Regions from separate parts of the Homo sapiens genome. Here region 2 is linked to region 1. Evidence: promoter capture Hi-C in human tissues and cell types (Jung and others, 2019). All regions are on one chromosome and are shown on one strand. The core of a region is centred on a gene start or on the middle of the fragment in contact, and the rest is flanking DNA. Distances in the headings are between cores, read along the strand shown.

The links. The method cuts DNA at HindIII sites, captures the fragments that hold promoters and counts their contacts. A contact is called where the count stands out against the background at its distance.
Region 2: a fragment that was not itself captured here is called in contact with the fragment with the promoter of ZNF134 in region 1 in 1 of the 25 tissues and cell types used here (spleen).

The regions. Positions count from the first base shown.
Region 1 is chr19:57,611,662-57,616,459 of GRCh38, reverse strand. ZNF134 (zinc finger protein 134) reads right to left here and starts at 2,218. Exons shown (of 3, transcript NM_003435.5): 1 at 1,957-2,218. It also overlaps a transcript of ZNF530 not described here. RefSeq lists a silencer at 1,964-2,013 and an enhancer at 2,144-2,323. The HindIII fragment of the contact is 8,655 bases long and covers 1-4,798 here.
Region 2 is chr19:58,267,737-58,271,972 of GRCh38, reverse strand. The region is part of intron 1 of ZNF8-DT (ZNF8 divergent transcript); the gene reads left to right. It also overlaps a transcript of ZNF544 not described here. Among named protein-coding and RNA genes, the nearest start is that of ZNF8-DT, 8.9 kb to the left of the region's middle. The HindIII fragment of the contact is 7,344 bases long and covers 1-4,236 here.

The DNA.
Region 1 (4,798 bases), core at 969-3,468:
TCCATGCAAATGAACTGATGAGTTTTTGAAAAATTAGGTTTGTTTTGCCTGCTTTAAAGCTTTTAAGAAAATTTGGTTAAGATTTTTCCATTGTAATAAAATACTTCAAGGCAACTTAATATTTTGACCAATCATTAAGTGCTAGTATAAATTTCCCTTACTTTGTACATACATTTTTTAGTTCCTTCTGCGTACTTGCAAGGTGTACACTAGCCCTTGCACTAAACCAGCCTACCTGATACATATTCCTCTGAAGGGGAGCTGCAGTGATCCTTCATTAGAGATGTTCATCAATTCTGCTTACCTGAGGGTTTGGGTAACTGAGGCACCAATGCACTGGTTGGGGATGGGACTGCTCCACAGGCAGCGCCCATGAAGGCATGCTGAGCCTGTAGGGTGGCAAACCTACTGCATCCCTCACCTTGGTCTCCAGTGCAGGCCAGGCTACTTATGCTCTACAGCCCTCTCCTCTTGCTGACACTATAAGATATAATAAAATTCCTCTTCAAAGGTTTAGCCTGTTAACTTCCTTGTTCTTTGTTCTCAAACCTTTCTTGTTCTCCATGCCTCCTTGCCCCTAGTTACTATAAACAACCTTCCTGTAAGCACTAACCAATAATTCACATCTGTTCCCTTACTCACTTTGCACCCATTGCCCCCGCCAAAACCACACGTCCTACACAACTCACATGTCCCACCACTGTAACTCACCTTCCCCTTCCCTCTTCCTTATTTGGAAAATACTCACAAATACCCAATTGGCTCAGCTTAGATTAAGCGGTCCGACCCCAGCCCATGGGGGAGTGACACAGAGGAAGGTAGGGACTATGGGTTAGAGATAAAAACCCCTTCCCTCCTTTGTTCAGTGTGCTCTTGGGATCGTGATTAACACAGGCAGCACACTTGCACAGAAGTAAATTGCCTTGCTGAGAAAACTTTTGCCTGAGTGCTGGTTTCACTTTGCAGCACCAAGCATTGACTTCCAACAACACCATCTAGAATGCTTTCACATGCCAGGACCCCTCCTTTCTGGAAGGAATCTTAAGTGTCCACCCCTTCATCCCTGGCCTTCCACCCTAAACCCACCTCTCACTTCAGAGACCACACAAAATAACTTCCTTGAAATTCCACCCTCTAAATCTGATCTACTACAGGCTTTGACCTTATGCCTCACCCATTGAAGTCTCTAGCACAACTCCCTCTCTAGAACCCCAGACCTGCATGTTCAGCTACCCGTGATGAACCTCCAGTGCAGAACACCTTAGATTCACCAAGTCCAAAACCCAATTCCTGATGCCCCTGAAACGTGCTCCCTGCTGTGACTTACCAATTTCCATTCTTTCACACGTTCAGGAAGGAAAACAGGCCAAAAAAACCCTGGATAGCCCTTTCCTCCCTACATTCACTCACGACCACATCTGATGCGGCAGGAAACCCCATTGGTTCCATCTTTAAAAATCTACCCAGAATCTCATGACTTCCCCACCCAACCCCTCCTGCCACTGCTCTGGCCCAGCCACCACCGCAACACTTCTGGAGTTTGTTGCAGGGACCTCCTCAAACGTCTCCTTGCCTCCATCCTCATCGTTTCTACCTCACTGTAGTCGGTTTCCTCCTCAGCAAACATTGGAATACTTTAAAAATCCTTTTTCGGATCCCTTCCCTCCACCATTCAAAACCCGCCATGGCTCCTATCGTCCTCGCAATGAAGGAGCAACTTCTCCCCTCGACATTGCAGGCCTGACTACGGTTCACACACGCTCCCGACTGCTACGGGCTCAGTCCAGCTCCAAACCTATGCTCAGGCTGCCCCTCTGCCAGTCACACTCGCCCCCACCCACCAGCGCCCCGCTGCCTTGGACACTGGGGCCTGCGCTGCAGGGACTCAGACAGGCGCTCCTCATTTGGAACTTCAGGATTTGGGGCGGGCGAAAGTCTGGGAAAGGCAGCACCCACCTGCGCCGGGCCCATCACCGCGGCCGCCGCCATCACAGTTCGTAGACCACCCGGAGCCGCGAGGGGGTCCCAGGTCGCGGGACCCTGGCACCGCGGTCGTCCGTCCCCGGGGGCGCAGGCGGGGTCTTCGCTGGCGAGCCACTCCGCAGAGCGAACAGCGACTTCTCCCGCACCCTCCCGCTTCCGTCACCTCGGAACCGCCCAGCAACCCCGAGCTTCTGCTCCGATGGTTCCACCTAAGAGCCGACAAGATGTCCACCGCGAGGAAGATACCGGAAGTCCCGCCCAGAGAGCTTCCGTCCGCAGGGAGACGCCCCTAAGAGTGCCGCCGCCGGGCGGCGCACAGGTTTCTGGGCAATGCAGTTCTCATGTGCACTTGGCCGTGGTGACGGCTAACTCCCCTGCACGCTGGGCAAAGGCCAAATGGTACTGCGAGGGGCGCTGAGAAATTATGCCCTGAGACTCTGAGGTCAGGGCGTGGCTTCGCTCCTTTTAAAGGACCCTCAACCAGGTCTTGTGTAGTGAGGTCTGCAGGGATCCCCGAAATATTGGGATATATTCTTACAGATGTTCCCTGAAGCCACACCACCAAATGGACACACAACATCCAATGTCACTCTGAGTCCACTCATAGTTCAGTCAAATTTCCTTCATTTAAAAAATATGTGTACTGTAGAGGGAAGCTTTGAGTCAGTTTTGTGAGCCTCAGTTGGGTCAGAGTTAACAGAGAATTGTCCCCAGGCAGGGCCATGGAGTGGAAGAATGGTCTCCAGACAGTGGCTATGGAGGGATGCTGGAGCTCCCTGAGGCAAGTGGACTAATATAGAGCTCTTCCTCTGGTTTCCTCAGAAAAAAAATACCTGAGAGAACCATGAGGAGGAAGACAGGCGAGAGAAGGTGGTCAAGGAAGGCACCTTTCCTGCCTGTATGGTCACTAATGTCCAACCAAAGGAGAAATATTCTTTTATCCAAATGAGAGTTCCTAGCCCAAAAGTTGAGATATATCTATTTCCTTTTGGTGATGTTTCTTATCTGAAAAGAAGAACCATTATAAATGCTTTTATATGCCAAGACAGGGGCTGAAAATGTGGTGTCTGAACCCAGAAATAAAGATTTGGAAAATTGGGATCAGATTTCTTGGCTGGGAGGTGATTCTCATTTCACCTGCAATTACACCGACAGTGTCTGAATTGAGAATTGAGATTTATTTATGGTTTTAAAAAAGAAAAGGGCGAGTGTATGGGGAAAGAAAGACAAAAACATTTGTGAATTGTTTAAATTACTCAAAAGTTGTTTTGTGTTTTTTTTTTTTGAGACGGAGTCTTGCTCAGTCGCCCAGGCTGGAGTGCAGTGGTGCGACCATAGCTCACTGCAGGCTCCGCCTCCCAGGTTCACACTATTCTCCTGCCTCAGCCTCCGGAGTAGCTGGGATTACAGGCGCCTGCCACCATGCCCGGCTAACTTTTTGTATTTTTAGTAGAGATGGGGTTTCACCGTGTTAGCCAGGATGGTCTCGATCTCCTGACCTCGTGATCTGCCCGCCTCAGCCTCCCAAAGTGCTGGGATTACAGGAGAGCCCCCGCGCCCGGCCAAATTACTCAAAGTTAATAATTCTGTAGTTATTCACAGATACATGACGAAATGGACCTGGAGAAACATATCTGTGATAAGTGAAAACGGTTAAGATGACAGCAAAATTTGAGCAGGAGACATTGAATTCTGAGAAGTGAGCAAATGAAGCTGAGCACACAGCTGTGTTAGAACTATGACTACAAGCAGCGTTTAGTCTCCAAAATGTAATTTTATTTATTTATTTAATTTTGGAGACAGGATCTCACTGTGTTGCACAGGCTGGAGTGTAGTGGCACGATCATAGCTTGCTGCAGCCTCAAACTCTTGGGCTCAAGGGATCCTCCCACCTCAGCCTCCCAAAAAGTTGGGATTACAGATGTGAGCCACCATGCCAGGCCTCTTTTCATTCTTGAAAACACTCAATAATACCTGGAAGGAGAAGTAAAGAAAACATTTAGAAAGTGCTATCAGAATATTAAGGTGAACAGGGATGCTGTAGTATTATGCTTATTCATAGTTCTAAGAAATATTCAAGGAACACCTACTGTATTTCAGACACTATCTTAACTGCATGGGACATTTACAAAACAAGAGACAGACCCCAATAGCTTACGCTGTACTCAAGAAAGAGGAGGAAATATGAAAAAAATGCTAAATTATATGGAATGTTAGAATGTGGCAGGCATAATGGAGAAAAGAGAAGGTGAAGGCATTGAGAAGTGCTGGAAAGATATGTAATATTACATAGCCAAGAGAGGCCAATTTGTGGATGGGTCTTTATTGGAAAAGGACATGGAGAGCTCAATGCCAGTGAAATAAAAGTTTAATGTTACTCAGAATTTCCCTAGAAATGGGAAGTACAGTATGCCATGCAGGGCCACAGGAGGAACAGGTTTCAGTCTAAAGGAAGAAGCAAGAGCTAGGGGAAAGCCTAGGCCAGATCAGAGCAAACAGCTGAGTACTGGCTAGTCTGAATAATTCTGGTTGGCTTCGATTTACAGGGGTGGTCTCTAGTTGCCTCATACCCTCACCCTGGTGTTAGAGTAGGTAGATAAGAGTAGGGCAGGAGAGAGGGACCCCAGGAATGTCAGGCAATTTTGGAGTCAAGGACAGGCAATCATAAATCTTTTCCTCTGAGATAATAAACAAAACAAGAGAGGGACCCCCGAGATGTCCAGCTCTCATTGGGTGAAGGACAGGAAAGCATAAAACTATCCCTCTGAGATGATAAGTGGCCATGATTGGTACCAGGAGGGAAAAGAGTTTTCCA
Region 2 (4,236 bases), core at 80-2,579, 660 kb before region 1:
CCAGGCTGGTCTTCAACTCCTGACCTCAAGTGATCCGCCCGCCTCGGCCTCCCAAAGTGCTGGGATTACAGGCATGAGCCACTGCGCCCAGCCTGCTCTTGCTTGATTTTTTAAATTGTCAGATCACTAATACAGAGACACCGAATCAAAAGGAGAGTAGGACAGTTGTTCATAATCCCACAAATCAAATGCTTACCTCCTCATGTACCATTGCTTCTCTCACCTATAGGCACACATTTGAAATAATTTGTTAGTTATCCAAATAAGAAGTGAACCACCAGGGAATTAAATGCTATGGGCTTAAAAGGGAAAGTACTCATCTCCTGCCCCAGTCACTCATCCTCTCAGCCTCCCGACATCACTTTTTTTTTGAGATAGGGTCTCACACTGTCACATAGGCTGGAGTGCAGTGATATAATAACAGCTAACTGCAGCCTCAACCTCCTGGGGTCAAAGAATCCTCCCAACTCAGCTTCCTGAGTAGCTGGGACTTCAGGTATGTGCTACTATGCCCGGCTAATTTTTGTATTTTTTGTAGAGACCAGGTCTCGCCATGTTGCCCAGGCTGGTCTCCAACTCTTAGGCTCAAGTGATCCACCTGCCTCAGCCTCCCAAAGCACTGGGATTACAGGTGTGCACCACCATATCCACTGCACCCACCTCCAGCCACTTTTAACCATATCTGTTCCAATTCTTCTTGAGGACACCTCCGTAATTCTAATCTTTGATCATCTTTAGTCTTTTTTTTTTTTTTTTTCCTGGAGACGGAGTCTGACTCTGTTGCCCAGGCTGGAGCACAGTGATGCAATCTCAGCTCACTGCAACCTCCACTTCCTGGGTTCAAACGATTCTCCTGCCTCAGCCTCCTGAGTAGCTGGGATTACAGGTGCCCACCACCACGCTGGGCTAATCTTTGTATTTTTAGTAGAGACAGAGTTTCACCATGTTGGCCAGGCTGGTCTCAAACTCCTGACCTCAGGTGATCCACCCACCTCAGCCTCCCAAAGTGCTGGGATTACAGGCATAAGCCACCGCATCCAGCCAATCATCTTTAGTTTTCACTAACTTCCTGCTCTGACAGGTGAGGATCTGACTCACATCCGCTGCCAATTCCTCTCATATTACATTTCAAGCTTTAATTTTCATCTTCTAAATAAACTTACATATCATGTTTAAAAGCCTACTTCCTAAAAGGATGGTAAGGGAAACCTCTACTCTCCACTACTACTTTCCCCATCTACTCTCCCACATCTGCAGGTGGGGCTGACATTGTCAGTGACAGGAATAATGACAACAGTGCCCTACCCTACGGCCACTATGAAGTTGTCAGGTCACAGCCATGTGTTACTTCCTAAAAATTAAAAGCCAATACAGGCCGGGTGCAATGGCTCATCCCTGTAATCCCAGCACTTTGGGATGCCAAGGTGGGCGGATCACAAGGTGAGGAGTTGGAGACCATCCTGACCAACATGGTGAAACCCTGTGTCTACTAAAAATACAAAAATTAGCTGGGCGTGGTGGCACGTGCCTGTAATCCCAGCTACTCAGGAGGCTGAGGCAGGAGAATTGCTTGAACCCGGGAGGCGGAGGTTACAGTGAGCCAAGATCGCGCCACTGCACTCCAGACTGGGCAACAGAGACTCCTTCTCAAAAAAAAAGAAAAAAAAAGCCAATACCTAGGGTTCACGTCACAGCTATGCAAATGCCATTCCCTGAAGGGTCAATCAACAATCTGACTGCATCTCCTCCTCCTTTATTCAAATTTCATGAGCTTTTTGCCCCCTCCAGCAAGAATTACTCACATCAGTGTCAAGTGAACACTACTTTCTAAAGTTACCTTCACATAGGAACTATAACCATCTAGCAGAATTTGTATAGTTTGAGCACAATTTACCTTGAAGCCTTCAATTAAAATTACCTTTTTTTTTAAGTTATGGGTGAATAAACATTCCTTTTCTTGCCCTATTCCTTTTCTAGATTAAAGCTATTCCTTTCTTAGATTCAAAACTATTTTCTCTAGAGAAGGTTCTGCCATGCCATTTGCTCTGTTTTGAGACAGAGTCTCATTCTGTCGCCCAGGCTGGAGTCCAGTGGCATGATCTAGACTCATTGCAACCTCTGCCTCCCAGGTTCAAGTGATACTCCTGCGTCAGCCTCCTGAGTAGCTGGGATTGCAGGCATTTATCACCACACTTGGCTAATTTTTGTATCTTTAGTAGAGACAGGGTTTCACCATCTTGGCCAGGCTGGTCTCAAACTCCTAACCTAGAGTGATCCACCTGCCTCGGTCTCCCAAAGTGCTGGGATTACAGGCGTGAGCCACCATGCCAGCCCTGCCATCTTTTTTTTTTTTTTTTTTTTTGAGACAGAGTCTCGCTTTGTCGCCCACGCTGGAGTGCAGTGGCACAATCTTAGCTCACTGCAACCTCCACCTCCTGGGTTCAAGCAATTCTCCTACCTCAGCCTCCCAAGTAGCTGGGATTACAGGTGTGAGCCACCATGCCCGACCCTGACATTTTTTTTGTTTGTTTTTTTTTGAGACAGAGTCTCGCTTTGTCGCCCAAGGCTGGAGTGCAGTGGCACAATCTTAGCTCACTGCAACCTCTACCTCTCGAGTTCAAGCGATTCTCCTGCCTCAGCCTCCTGAATAGCTGGGATTATAGGCGGCTGCCACCATGCCTGGCTAATTTTTGAATTTTTATTAGAGATGAGGTTTCACAATGTCGGCCAGGCTGGTCTCAAACTCTTGACTTCAGGTGATCTGCCTGCCTCAGCCTCCCAAAGAGCTGGGATTACAGGCGTGAGCCACCACGCCCAGCCTGCCATCTGTTTTTAGTCGTGGTGTTCTCAGTTTTCCACGATGCATGGGTCTTATTAATTCTGATAATAATGGCATGACCTGAAAATTTCCTTTCAGCCCTGGGGAAGTTTCCCTTTCTTTTTCTTACTTATTTGTTCAATGTGGAAAGTAAAAGTTCCTCTTCAAAGTTTCCCTTCTTGTTAAAGAATAAATCATAAGTGTTAAAAAATAATAGTTTCTTTTATAAACTAACTTCCTTGAAACCTCCTTGCTTTGTGCTAGTAAGTCTTTGTTAGGCCCTATCCTATGTAGCTGGTAAACATGCTCACAGGCACGTAGTACGTTCTATGTCCCTGTACCTTAACCAAGTTATTTGTGCTGGACATGCTCATGGTCACGTTCCAGCTTACAGCCTATGCTCCTTCCATATCTGGCATAAGCAACTTCCTCTTTTCCTTCGTCTTTCCACTACTTTTACCTATTTAGAAAAGTTTTAAACTGTTAGCTAATCTAGTTTTAGTTTAGATTGTGCAGGCTGGCTCCAGCCAACGGAGACAGGACACAGTAGCAGGGACAAACTGCCTAAGGAATAAAAATTGCTTCCCTCCTTTGTTCAGGTGTGCTCTTGCCATTGTTCCATCTGTGATGAGCACCCTTTCTGCAGAAAGTAAAAACGGCCTTGCTGAGAGAATTAAATTTATGTTTTGAGTGCTATTTCTTTGCAGCACCAGGCAACAAGCATTCTGTTTCTCACTAAACATTGTATCTATAACATTGAACAATCTTACTTGTAATTTCAAAGAGCCTGTTCTGGTTCTCATTGTTCTATTTTATCAAAGTATCTTATTTTTTATTTTTATTTATTTTTTCTGAGACGGAGTTTCACTCTTGTTGCCCAGGCTGGAGTGTAATGGCACTAGACCTCGGCTCACTGCAATCTCCACCTCCCAGGTTCAAGCGATTCTCCTGCCTCAGACTCCTGAGTAGCTGGGATTACAGGCATGCACCACCATGCCCGGCTAATTTTGTATTTTTAGTAGAAACAGGGTTTCTCCATGTTGGTCAGGCTGATCTCAAACTCCCAACCTCAGGTGATCCGCCCGCCTCGGCCTCCCAAAGTGTTGGGATTATAGGCGTGAGCCACTACGCCCAGTCTGTCTTATTTTTTACTGGTAACCCTCTTTTTTTTTTTGAAACGCAGTCTCGCTCTGTTGCTCAGGATGGAGTGCAGTGGCGTGATCTCGGCTCACTGCAAGCTCCTTCTCCTGAGTTCACGCCATTCTCCTGCCTCAGCCTCCCGAGTAGCTGGGACTACAGGTGCCCGCCACCATGCCCAGCTAATTTTTTGTATTTTTAGTAGGGACGGGGTTTCACCTGTTAGCCAGGATGATCTCGATCTCCTGACCTCGTGATACGCTTGCCTCGGCCTCCCGAAG